Linked DNA regions of Homo sapiens: regions 2 and 3 are each linked to region 1. The links are contacts of gene promoters, found by promoter capture Hi-C in blood cells and fetal thymus (Javierre and others, 2016). All regions are on one chromosome and are shown on one strand. The core of a region is centred on a gene start or on the middle of the fragment in contact, and the rest is flanking DNA. Distances in the headings are between cores, read along the strand shown.

The links. The method cuts DNA at HindIII sites, captures the fragments that hold promoters and counts their contacts. A CHiCAGO score of 5 or more calls a contact.
Region 2: a contact is called between a fragment that was not itself captured here and the fragment with the promoter of PMPCB in region 1, in 13 of 17 cell types (activated CD4 T cells, total CD8 T cells, M2 macrophages and 10 more). The highest score is 9.2, in activated CD4 T cells.
Region 3: a fragment that was not itself captured here is called in contact with the fragment with the promoter of PMPCB in region 1 in 15 of 17 cell types (total CD8 T cells, naive CD8 T cells, activated CD4 T cells and 12 more); the score reaches 13.8 in total CD8 T cells.

What each region holds. Positions count from the first base shown.
Region 1 is chr7:103,295,738-103,299,664 of GRCh38, forward strand. It overlaps PMPCB (peptidase, mitochondrial processing subunit beta), which reads left to right and starts at 1,698. Exons shown (of 13, transcript NM_004279.3): 1 at 1,698-1,821; 2 at 2,831-2,971; 3 at 3,706-3,792. The coding sequence starts at 1,723. RefSeq lists enhancers at 1,493-1,552, 1,653-1,952. The HindIII fragment of the contact is 11,349 bases long and covers 1-3,927 here.
Region 2 is chr7:103,356,671-103,360,597 of GRCh38, forward strand. All of the region lies in intron 4 of PSMC2 (proteasome 26S subunit, ATPase 2), which reads left to right. It also overlaps a transcript of SLC26A5 not described here. Among named protein-coding and RNA genes, the nearest start is that of PSMC2, 11 kb to the left of the region's middle. The HindIII fragment of the contact is 5,225 bases long and covers 1-3,927 here.
Region 3 is chr7:103,337,831-103,341,757 of GRCh38, forward strand. All of the region lies in intron 2 of DNAJC2 (DnaJ heat shock protein family (Hsp40) member C2), which reads right to left. It also overlaps a transcript of PMPCB not described here. Among named protein-coding and RNA genes, the nearest start is that of DNAJC2, 5.0 kb to the right of the region's middle. The HindIII fragment of the contact is 4,443 bases long and covers 1-3,927 here.

The sequences.
Region 1 (3,927 bases), core at 448-2,947:
TGGTCGTCCTTTATTACATTACATCATGAGTCTTGTGGACTGAACCTGCGAAGCATAGCAGCCGGGTAGGTGGAGGGAGATGAGTCTGGAAAGATAAATGGGAGTCAGATCATGAAGGGCCCCACCTGCCATGCTAAGGACCCTTTACTTTATTGTGACCAAGGGCTCCCTGATGGATTCTTCATAATGGGACTGCCGTAACAGTTTCATTTGTAAAAGATCCTATAGGTAGTAATGTGAAAAAACTGACAATGGGCCTGGAGTAGATTGAAGAGGCAGGAAAGGGGTGTATCAATTGAATGTGGAAGATGGAAAAAGAGAGGAGCTTCTGGGTGGTTTGGAGTTTTGGGCAAATGTAGGTATGATTGGCTGTTTGGCATTGCAAATATGGGAAGAGATTCAGGGGACACAGTGAATTCCCTTTTGGACAAGTTGATATTGAGTTTCCAATGGGGTATTCAAGTGTAGTTTCCTAGTAGTTGATGGTTAAGTGGGCTGGAGCTCAAGAGAAAGGCCTGGGTTGGGCAGACAGGTCTTGAAGTGGAGGGAAAAACCCAGAGGGAGAATGTTCAGTAGAAGAGGCTTAGAGTCCTGGCAAACACCAACTTTTAGGGCAAAATGTAGTGTTTCACAGCACAGTCTTTGGCGTTAACCTATTACTAGCAGGGTAACCTGGGGCAAGTTATTTGACTTCAGTGTCTTAATTGCAAAATAAGCACTATACCATCTACCTGAGTTAGAAAAGCATTTGCAATTTTTAGTTCCTTGAGAGATCTGTGGGCTGGGCGCAGTGGCTCACGCCTGTAATCCTAGCACTTTGGGAGGTGGAGGTGGGTGGATTACCTGAGGTTAGGAGTTCAAAACCAGCCTGACCAATATGGTGAAACCCCATCTCTACTAAAAATACAAAGTAGCCAGGCGTGGTGGCACATGCCTGTAATCCCAGCTACCTGGGAGGCTGAGGCAGGAGAATTGCTTGAACCCAGGAGGCAGAGGTTGCAGTGAGCTGAGATTGCACCACTGCACTCCAGCCTGGGCAACAAGAGTGAAACTCCATCTCAAAAACAAAAACAAAAACAAAAAACAGATCTGTGAATAAAGAGGAGTCCAAGAAGGTGCAGAGGGAACTATGAGGAGGTGGAGCTCTAGAATATATTGAGAAAAGAGAATTTCAAAGAAGCCAACAATGTCAAATCCTCCAACAGGACTGTAACATAAGTCTGTAAAGTGTCCAACTTTTAGCAATTAGTGACCTTACCAAGGGCAATTTCTATGGAATGAGATGAGCCATATTGTAGAGGTTCGAAGAGTGGATAGTGGTCAACACGGATACATCGTTTCCTCCCCTCACGGCATCTGTCTCTCCCACTAGACTTTTCCTTTAAAGGCAGTGACTTATGAATATTATTCCACTGTTTTCAATCAATTCCATCCACCAGTGAGATATATTGCATCAGGTTACCTTTCATTCCACCGCATTTGTGCCTTGCACTTAGTAGGCGATCGATAAAATAACTGATGATAAAGGGGCTTCTGCAGACTCCCCAATTCATTTGGTAAAGACCGCTCAGCATCATGGTCGGGCCCTGATTGCTTTCACAACCGCTTCGAGGAGTGTCATTCCCATCACGGCCACAAGGTGGAGCCCACCTCCCTGCTCTGGGACCTCAGGTCGCGACCCCGGAAGCACATCCTTCATCCTCTACCTTCCTTCTAGCAGAAATGGCGGCTGCGGCGGCTCGAGTGGTGTTGTCATCCGCGGCGCGGCGGCGGCTCTGGGGTTTCAGCGAGAGTCTTCTAATCCGAGGCGCTGCGGGACGGGTGAGCTTCCCTCCAGGCCGGTCCTGTCCTCGAGATCTCGCCAGACCCGGCGCAGCGCACCTGAGAGTCGGCGCCACAGATCCGAACAGTGGGTCGGGCAGGGCCTCCTCGACCCGGACCCGCCGGGCGCCAGGCGGCCTGGGGCTGCTGAACTGGCCGGGGGTGACTGGCTTGTGGCCACCCGCCAGGAGACCTGCTAGTGACGTGTGGGATGACCCTGGTTTTCGGCTCCTCCCGCCAGCTACTGAGGAGTGCATGTTTGACCACTAAAAACGTAGTGCTTGCAAATTGGGGAAAACTAAAAAGTGAAATGGGTACCGCTCCAGAGTTCTATTTTTGCCTAAGACTGAACTTCGTCCTCAGCTGGGCTTCCCGCGAACCTGGACATCAATGAAGTAAAATTTTTTATGTATTTGCATTTTTCTCATGAGAGAGCCTCTGACTTTAAGCAAAGGGATGTGAGACTTTTGTATAAGGGCAAAGAAAAACTGCTGAAAGGCGAATAGTTTCTGGCCGAAAAGCCAGTCATTTGCATTTTGAACATCGACCCATCTTCCTATCCTCTCTCTCTTTTTTTTTTTAACCATTTCCAAACCCTGTTGCTTTTCTTGAACAATGAAAACCCGAGTGTCAGTTTTGTCTTGTGTGTAGGTAGTTTTACATAGTTTCCCTCTCTTTTTTTTTTTCCTGCTTGTTTTCTCCATAATGAATATAAAACATTTCTAGGAGAGGTAGTGAAATAAAGTCAATTTCTCTCTGGGTAATGATAATAATTGCTCATCTTCCCTGAGGGAAGGGCATGTTTATAAACACGTTGCTGGCTTTAGGACAGTGGCTGGTGACAGATGTTTCTAGGCCAGGCAGAGATCTCAGTGGAACCAAAATTCAAGAAGAAAGATTCTTTTATAGAGACAGCCTATTTAAAATAGATTTGGTTTTAAAAGCAACATTTAATATCAGATTAGTAATGTGTTTTGCTTTGTCTCTTCCACTTCCTACCCCCAACCAGTCATTATATTTTGGAGAGAACAGATTAAGAAGTACACAGGCTGCTACCCAAGTTGTTCTGAATGTTCCTGAAACAAGAGTAACATGTTTAGAAAGTGGACTCAGAGTAGCTTCGGAAGACTCTGGGCTCTCAACATGCACAGTAAGTGACTCAGGCAACCTTCTCTAAGTGACCCTTCATTTAGCGTAGCAAATTGTTGATTTTAATCTTTAGCTTTTTCGTTGGCTGGTGGTTCAAAAAGGGTGACAGTTATTTTGCCTTGACAGATTTCCATGAGTTGTGAACCTTTTCTTCCAGTGGTACTTAGTTACAGGGTGCATATGTATCCTGTTGCATTGTCTGCATCTTGTTCTTGTAGCTTATTATTGATTATTTATTTTCAGTAGTATTGATAATAATGAAAGAAATATGTTTGCAGGGCTACTCTGCCAAGTGTTTTTACTGATGTCTTATTTGATAAAAAGCAATTGTTTGTAGTGGGCATCCTCACACCTGTTTTATAGTTAAGGAAGTGAGAGAAGTTAAATGGTTTTGTTCAGGTAACTCAGCTAATACATGACAGAGCCAGGATTTCAACCGAAGTTTTCTGACAGTCTCTGATGTTCTTGATACTACAGTTATTAATTGGCTGGATTAATGAGTTGGGCAAAGAATCCTCATTGAAGGTGGCAGGTAGATACTTGTAGCACCCAGCAGTATCCTGATCGAAATTTTTAAATCTCATAGTTCACAGGAATGAACTATCAATTCACTCAGGTCAAGAAAATCTTAGTGTTAAGACCAGAAAGCATTTGTCAGAAAAAGGAAGGAGACTGTTCCCCCCAACCTCAAATAAATAAAATGAATTTATTTAATTGTTCTTTGATTGCATTAAGGTTGGACTCTGGATTGATGCTGGAAGTAGATACGAAAATGAGAAGAACAATGGAACAGCACACTTTCTGGAGCATATGGCTTTCAAGGCAAGTTGTAAGACTTTACAAAAATGCACTCTCTTTAAGAGATAATAAGCACAAAGTCTCATTCTTTAGAGGCAGGGAGAGCTCTTTCAGTAGTATAACATGTTTTATGTTTATTTTTCCAGGACAGTATCTAAA
Region 2 (3,927 bases), core at 607-3,106, 61 kb after region 1:
TATATTGTACATATTGTCTTTTCTTAAGTATGCTACAAGTATTTTTCCCTAGTCACTTTTAACTTCTTGGTACCTTTTGTTGTACTAATGTTTTACATTTTTAGGAGATAAAATATACCAATATTTCCATTATACCTTTTGGGTGTTAATGTTGCTTAGAAAAACCTAGCCCAATTCAAGGCTATAAACATATTCTCCTCTGTTTATAATCCTTTTAAAAATTTTGTTTTTATTTTTAGTTCCTAAAAGCTAAAGATTATTTTTATTTCCCATCTACTCACCCTCCCTACTTCACAATTTCCATCTTTTCTCACTTTTATTTATTCACTCACTTTTTAGTTTTATCATGGTTTTTGAAGGGTTAAATAGTTCAGGCTGGGCACGGCAGCTCACGCCTGTAATCCCAGCACTTTGGGAGGCCCAGGCAGGCAGATGACTTGAGGTCAGGAGTTCAAGACCAGCCTGGTCAACATAGTGAAACCCCGTCTCTACTAAAAATACAAAAATTAACTGGGTGTGGTGGCGGGCGCTTGTAATCCCAGCTACTGGAGAGGCTGAGGCAGGAGAATCGCTTGAACCTGGGAGGCAGAGGTTGCAGTAAGCTGAGATTGTGCCACTGCACTTCAGCCTGGGGTGACAGAGTGATACTCTGTCTCAAAAAAAAAAAAAAAAGAAAAGAGTTAAACAGTTAAATAATAACAACTGTATTTCCCAATTTCTCTTCCCTAATGACACTCATTTTCACCTTTTTTAGCTGATTATTTTGGTTTTCGTCTTCATGGTTCTAATGGATATTGCTATATCTTGTGTATTATAGATTCCTACTTCTTGATTTTTTAGTTTTAGGTATTATCTTTTGGCTTTCCATCATGGAAGATGAGGATTTTGTTTTGTTTCCTCTGCCTTCACCTTGAAGGCACACCTTTCCTATCCCCTCATCCTTCCTATGTAATTCTGTTATAATTTTGGTTAGATCAGTATTCAGTGTTTATATGATTATGGCTATGTAAACACTATTCACAAAGAGCCAAGTGGTAAGCTGTGATTGCTTTTCCTTTCTTGTACCACTTCTTTTAGTGGTGGTTGTTATAACGTCTTGTTTTTTCATTTGCCTGGTTTTCTGTGCATATATTATGAACTCAACCTCCCACTTTCTCTTGATTGTCTAAACTGCTCTTCAGATGCATTAGATCTGTTCGTTTTCTCTCAGTTATACCTTAGTTGCATCTGGTGTTCTCTCGGTTTCATTTTCCTTAAGTTTTTCCCAGCACCTTCTGACCTGCTTTGGTTTGGACCAGTTGTCCTTTATGCCTGTTTAATGACAATTGTTGTCTGACTTCTCTACCCTGGAGATTGCCCTTTACCTCTCTCCTGTTGCTTGGTCTAATACATCCTCTGGTAGCTTCTTGGAAAAGGGTCAGTTGGGAGGTAATATTTTGAGACTGCATATGTCTGAAAGTGTCTTAGCTGAGTATACAGTTCTTTTCCCTTCAAAATTTTGAAGGCGTCGTTCTGTTGTCCTTTGCCTCCCAGTGTTACTCTGAAGCCATTCTGATCCTCAGTCCTGTATATGTGGCCTAATTTTTCTCTGAAAATTGTAGAGTCTTCTCTTGTTCTATTTTGAAATTTCATGGTGATGTGCCTTGGTGTTGGTCTGTTTTCATCCATTGTCCTGGGCTCTCTTGTCCTTTAGTAAGGCAAATCTTCTTGAAACTATTTGTTAATTTCTTTCCTTCCGTTTTCTTGGACCCTTATTCCTGAATTCTCTTATTTGGATATGGGGCCTCCAGGATTGCTCCTCTAATTTGCTAATCTTTCCTTCCTGTTTTTCTTCTTTTTGCCTTTTTACTTTACTTTCTATGAGCTTTTCTTTATCTTTGAATTTTTCTGTTGATGTTTTTTTCCTCCCATTTTTCTTCTCGTAGGTTTTTAATTTCTCAGGTAAAAAAACTCAGGTTTTTTATTTCAAGGCTCTTATCTTTATTCTTTCATTTTTGTGTGTGTGTTGAATGTTCTGCTCTTATATCATGGTTGTAATATGTTCTTATCTCTCTATGGTAAATTAAAAAATCTAGGTACATTTTTCTAGGCCGTATGAGGGGAATTTTCTTTTTTCTGTAAAGCAGTTAGAGGGAAACTTTTCATATAGATTTTTCATAACAGACAGACTAGCTAAAGAGCCCTATACCCCTACAAGATCCCAGGCCTTAAAGAAAGCAAAGATTATTTTGAAAAAGTTTCCATTGATTTTAGTCTCATACTCTTTGCTTAAAACTCTTGATAAAATTTGTGTATGTGTAATTTTTAGCTTGTGAATTTTTTTTTTTTTTTGAGACAAGGTCTCACTTTGTTACCAAGGCTGGAGTGCAGTAACATGATCTCAGCTCGCTGCAGCCTCTGCTTCCTGGGCTCCCACCTCAGCCTCCCAAGTGGCTGGGACCACAGGTGCATACCACCCCATGTCTGGCTTTTTTTTTTTTTTTTTTTTTTTTTTTTTTTTAATTTTTAGTAGAGACAGGGTCTTGCCATGTTGCCTGGGCTGCTCTTGAACTCCTAGGCTCAAGCCATCTGCCCACCTTGGCCTCCCAAAGTTCTGGGATTACAGGTGTGAGCCACCGTGCCCAGCCAGCTTATGAATTTTTTTAATAACAATCTTACTGATATAAAATTCAGATATCATGAGGTTCACTCTTTTAAAGTATACAATTTAGTGATTTTTAGAATATCTAGAAAATTGTGCATTGATCATCACTATCTAATTCCAGAATAGAATATTTTTGTCACCCCAAAAACAAACCCAATACCCATTAGCAGTCTTCATTCCCGTCTCTTTCCAGCCCCTGGCAACCATTTATCTACTTTCTGTTTCTATGAATTTGTCTATCCTGGACATATCATCTAAATGGAATCATATAGTACATGGCTTCCTTCACTTAGCATATTTCAAGGTTCATCCGTATTCTAAAATAGATGGAACTTTTTATGGCCAAATAATATTCCAGTCTAATTTCTCTATCTGTATTCACTATTGGTGAGACATTCTTCTCATCATTCCTATAAACTCTTTAGATATGGTTTCCTTTAGCTTTTTGAAAATATTTCTTGTACTGATTTAAGGTTTTTGTTTGACTGGGCGCAGTGGCTCATGCCTGTAATCCCAGCACTTTGGGAGGCTGAGGCAGGTGGATCACTTGAGGTTGGGAGTTTGAGATCAGCCTGGCCAACATGGTGAAACCTGTCTCTACTAAAAATATAAAAATATTAGCTGGGCGTGGTGGCAGGCGCCTGTAATCCCAGACACTTAGGAGGCTGACGCAGGAGAATTGCTCGAACGTGGGAGGCGGAAGTTGCAGTGAGTCAAGATCGCGCCACTGCACTCCAGCCTGGGCAGCAGTGAGATTCCGTCTCAAAAAAAAAAAAAAAGTTTTGTTTAATAACACCAACATCTAGGCTTCTTAAGGGACAATTTCTATTGACTGATTTTTTTCCCCTTATGTATGAGCCATAATGTCATACATAAGGGAAAATGCATTTCATAATGTTTTGCATCTCATAACTTTTTGGTGATAACTAGACATTTAAAATAATGTAATGTGTCACCTCTGGAAATCAAATTCTTCCTTTCCCCAGGGTTTGGTATTATTGCTGTTTGTTGTTCTTGTTTTTCCTTTCAGGTTTTTTGGTCAGCCTCTTTTTTTTTGGTAGAGAATGGGTATAATTCTTCTTCCCTAGCAAACATGGTTGGTAACAGAAAACAGAGTCCTTCACACAATTATGCTATCAGGACAAAGCATTCTTTTTTAGCCTTGACCTCCTGGGCTCAAGTGATCCTCCAGCCTCAGCCTCCTCAGTAGCTGGGACTACAGGTGCATCCCACCACACCTGGCTAAGCCAAAGCATTCTGTACCTTACTTTTAGCTCTACCTA
Region 3 (3,927 bases), core at 606-3,105, 42 kb after region 1:
GGGAGTCAAATTTGAAATGAAGCCAATATATTCCATCCCTTGTGTTCTGGTACCTTAATAAGCATTTCCCAAAGTGACATTTCATCAGGAGTCCAGTAAGAGGTTCTGTATAAACCAGGGTCTATGGTCAGGTAAGGTTGAGAAATGTGGATTAGGCTGGGTGCCATGGTTCATGCCTGTAATCCTAGCACTTTGGGAGGCCCAGGTGGAGGATTGCTTGAGCCCAGGAATATGAGGCCAGCCTGGGCAACAAAGTAAGATCTCTGTCTCTACAAAAAAATTTTTAAAAATTAGCTGGGTGTGGTGGTGTGCACCTGTAGTTCCAGCTACTCAGGAGGCAGAAGTAGCAGGATTACTTGAGTCTAGTAAGTAGAGGCTGCAGTGAGCTGTGATCATGCCACTGCACTCCAGGATAGGCGACAGAGCAAGACCCTGTCTTTTTTTTTTTTTTTTTAATGATTTTAAGATTTTATTTTATTTTTTTGAGACGGAGTCTTGCTCTGTTGCCCAGGCTGGAGTGCAGTGGTGCCATCTTGGCTCACTGCAACCTCCGCCTCCCGGGTTCAAGCAATTCTCCTGCCTCAGCCTTCCAAGTTGCTGGGATTACAGGTGCACACCACCACGCCTGGCTAATTTGTGTATTTTTAGTAGAGACAGGGTTTCACCTTGTTGGTCAGGCTGGTCTCGAACTCCTGACCTCAGGTGATATACCTGCCTTGGCCTCCCAAAGGGCCAAGGGATTACAGGTGTGAGCCACTGCACCCGGCCAAGACCCTGTCTTTAAAAAAAAGAAGAGACAGGCTGGGCATGCCAGCTTACGCCTGTAATCCCAGTGCTTTGGGAGGCTGAGGTGGGTGGATCATGAGGTCAGGAGTTTGAGACCAGCCTGGCTAACATGGTGAAACCCTGTCTCTACTAAAAATACAAAAATTAGCCGGGCGTGGTGGCGCCCACCTGTAATCCCAGCTACTCGGGAGGCTGAGGCAAGATAATTGCTTGAACCTGGGAGGCGGAGGTTGCAGTGGGCCAAGACTGCGCCACTGCACTCCAGCCTGGGCAACAGAGTGAGACTCCGTCTCAAAATAAAATAAAATAAAAAATAAATTTAAAAAAGAGGTAAATGTGGACTATTATACAGCCTCCTTGATGATTTGTATGCACAAAGGCCTAAGAAAGGCTCTGAGAAGTCCTGTAATTAGATTTAAAAAATAAACAAACAGAAACCTGTAAAACCTAGCATTTTCCAAACTTACTTGACCAAAGACCCCTTTTTTCTCTTAGCACCTGTTGATAGCTTATGGCCATCCTATGGAACTTATGGCTACATGTTCTTGTTTACTTATTATGTCACTGGAATATAAGCTGTGTGTAAGCAGTAATACTGTCTTGTTCAGTACAGTATCCTTGACACCTAGAACAGTATCTGACATGGTGTTTGATCCATATTTGATGAATGAAAATAAACTGAACAAGTGAATGAACTCTGCTACCTTACTCTGATACAATCTACTTCTTTCTATACCAAAGACCTTCTCCCTCTTATAGATCTCAACACTCCCCAGTTCTGTCTTTTCCCGACTCTGCCTTCTCCTGAAGTTACTATCTTCTCTCATTTTCTTTACTACCCAGCTTTGAAAGAGTACTTTACACTTTGATCCTACTTCATCACTTCCTAATCACTCTTCATTCACTGTAATCTCTTGCCTTCCCGATCATTTTACTCAAACTGCTTTCAATGAGGACACCGAAACTTTTAGTTTGCCAAATCCAATGGTTTTTTTTTTTTTTGAGATGGAGTTTCACTCTTGTTGCCCAGGCTGGAGTGCAGTGGCACGATCTCAGCTTACCGCAATCTCCACCTCCCAGGTTCAAGCGATTCTCCTGTTTCAGCCTCCTGAGTAGCTGGGATTATAAGCATGTGCCACCATGCCCGGTCCAGTGTTTTTTAAAATAATTTTTCATGTTATGTGATTGACCTCTTTCTGAAGCAGTGACACAGGTGACTCTTCCCACGCCCCTTTTTTTGAGATAGAGTTTTGCTCTTGTTGCCCAGGCTGGAGTGCAATTGTATGATCTCGGCTCACAGCAACCTCCACCTCCTGAGTTGAAGTGATTCTCCTGCCTCAGCCTCCCAAGTAGCTGCGATTACAGGCATGTGCCACCACGCCTGGCTAATTTTGTATTTTTAGTAGAGATGGGGTTTCACCATGTTGGTCAGGCTGGTCTCGAACTCCTGACCTCGGGTGATCTGCCCGCCTCAGCCTCCCAAAGTGCTGGGATTACAGGCATGAGCCACTGCACCCTGCCTCTTTTTCCCTCTTGCTCCTCCCTTAGTTTCTGGAAGAATACGCTGCCTGATGTTTAGGAAGTATTTCTTCAAATAACAAAGTGTCTTTTTCTTTGTTTTCTTTCTACTTCTGTCACCCTTCTTAGTATCTTCTGCTGTTTTTCCTCCTCTTCCTACCCCTTAAATATCCATGCTCCCCAATGTTGTCTTTTTCTTTTAAAATGGATGAGGTGGTGGGAGAATCAGCTAACACTTTCTGAGTGCTTACTTTTCTAAATGTTTTATACATATGCTTTAGCTTATTTAGTCCTCTAAACAACCAATGACATAGGAACTCTTATTATCCATTATTTGTTTGGCATTTATCATGCAGCAAGTACTAACTTAAGTGCTTTATAAGCATCCTTTTATTAATCCTCAAGGTAAACCTTTGAGCTGTTAACAATCTCACTGTAGCAACAAGGGAAATGAGGTACACACATATCTGGGAACTTTCCCAAGGTCGAAGTGCACCAAATGGCAGAACCAGATTTGAATTCAGGCACTCCAATTCCACAGCATACGCATTTAACTATTATACAAGTACCTACTAAAGCATTATCTATTTGTTTATACTTTTGTCCCTTGCTGTTGTCATTCAATTCCTCACAGCAACCACCACTATGTGCCAATGACTTCAAAAAGTCTTTGGCTGTAACCTCTTTTTGGAGTCATAGACCAATTTCTAACCATCTACTAGACAGCTTCACCACTATGGTACCAAAACCTCAGTCTTCACATAGTCAAACTTGGACACAAACAGCACCTCCCACAAACATTCTTATCCTCATCCCAGCATTGGTTACTGACCACACACTCTAGCAGGTCACTCAAGCGCTAATGCTGGGAAGGACCTCTGAATACTTCTCTTTGTCTTGTGCCACACAGCCAGGGTCACCAAAGCCTGTTAATGCTACCTCCAAAAAAGGCAAATCTGACCCCTCTTCCTCAAAACCCAGCCACATAGTAAGTTCAAGGATTCAGTCACAGGTCTGCCTTAGTGCACTAGCCCTATAACAGTAAACTATTCACTTCCCCTCCAGTCCCTTGCCCCCTTTCAAGCAATTTCCTGTACTGCCAAGGGAATTACTTTTCTAAAATTAGCTAAGAAACTTTTGATGGTATCTTACTGTCCCAAAAATAAATTTTAATTCCTTCTTTAGCATGGTATAAAAAGGACACAACAGAGTTTGGTCTAGTGTCCTTTTAAAGACACTAGATTTCTCATCACCATACCGCATGTACCCTATACGACTTATCAATTCCTCAAGAGGCACTACATATTCTTTTACTCCTTTGTGTCTTTGTATATCTTACTCCTTCTGCCCAGAATACTTTTCTCACTTCTCTGCTTCACTAATTGCTGCCTGTCCTTTTAAGACCGGTGCAAACATTATCTTTTCTGTGAACTCTTCCTGGATTTCTCCAGCAGAGACAGTATCTCATGGCTAGTGCTAATGCTCTCAAGACTTAGTAATAAACAGATGCTAAATCATAGTTATCTTGCTGAATCATCTTAAAACATGTTTATTAATGGAAAACTCATAAGAAAATTGTCTATGTCTAACAAAGCATCTGACTGAACAAAATATTCAGATATT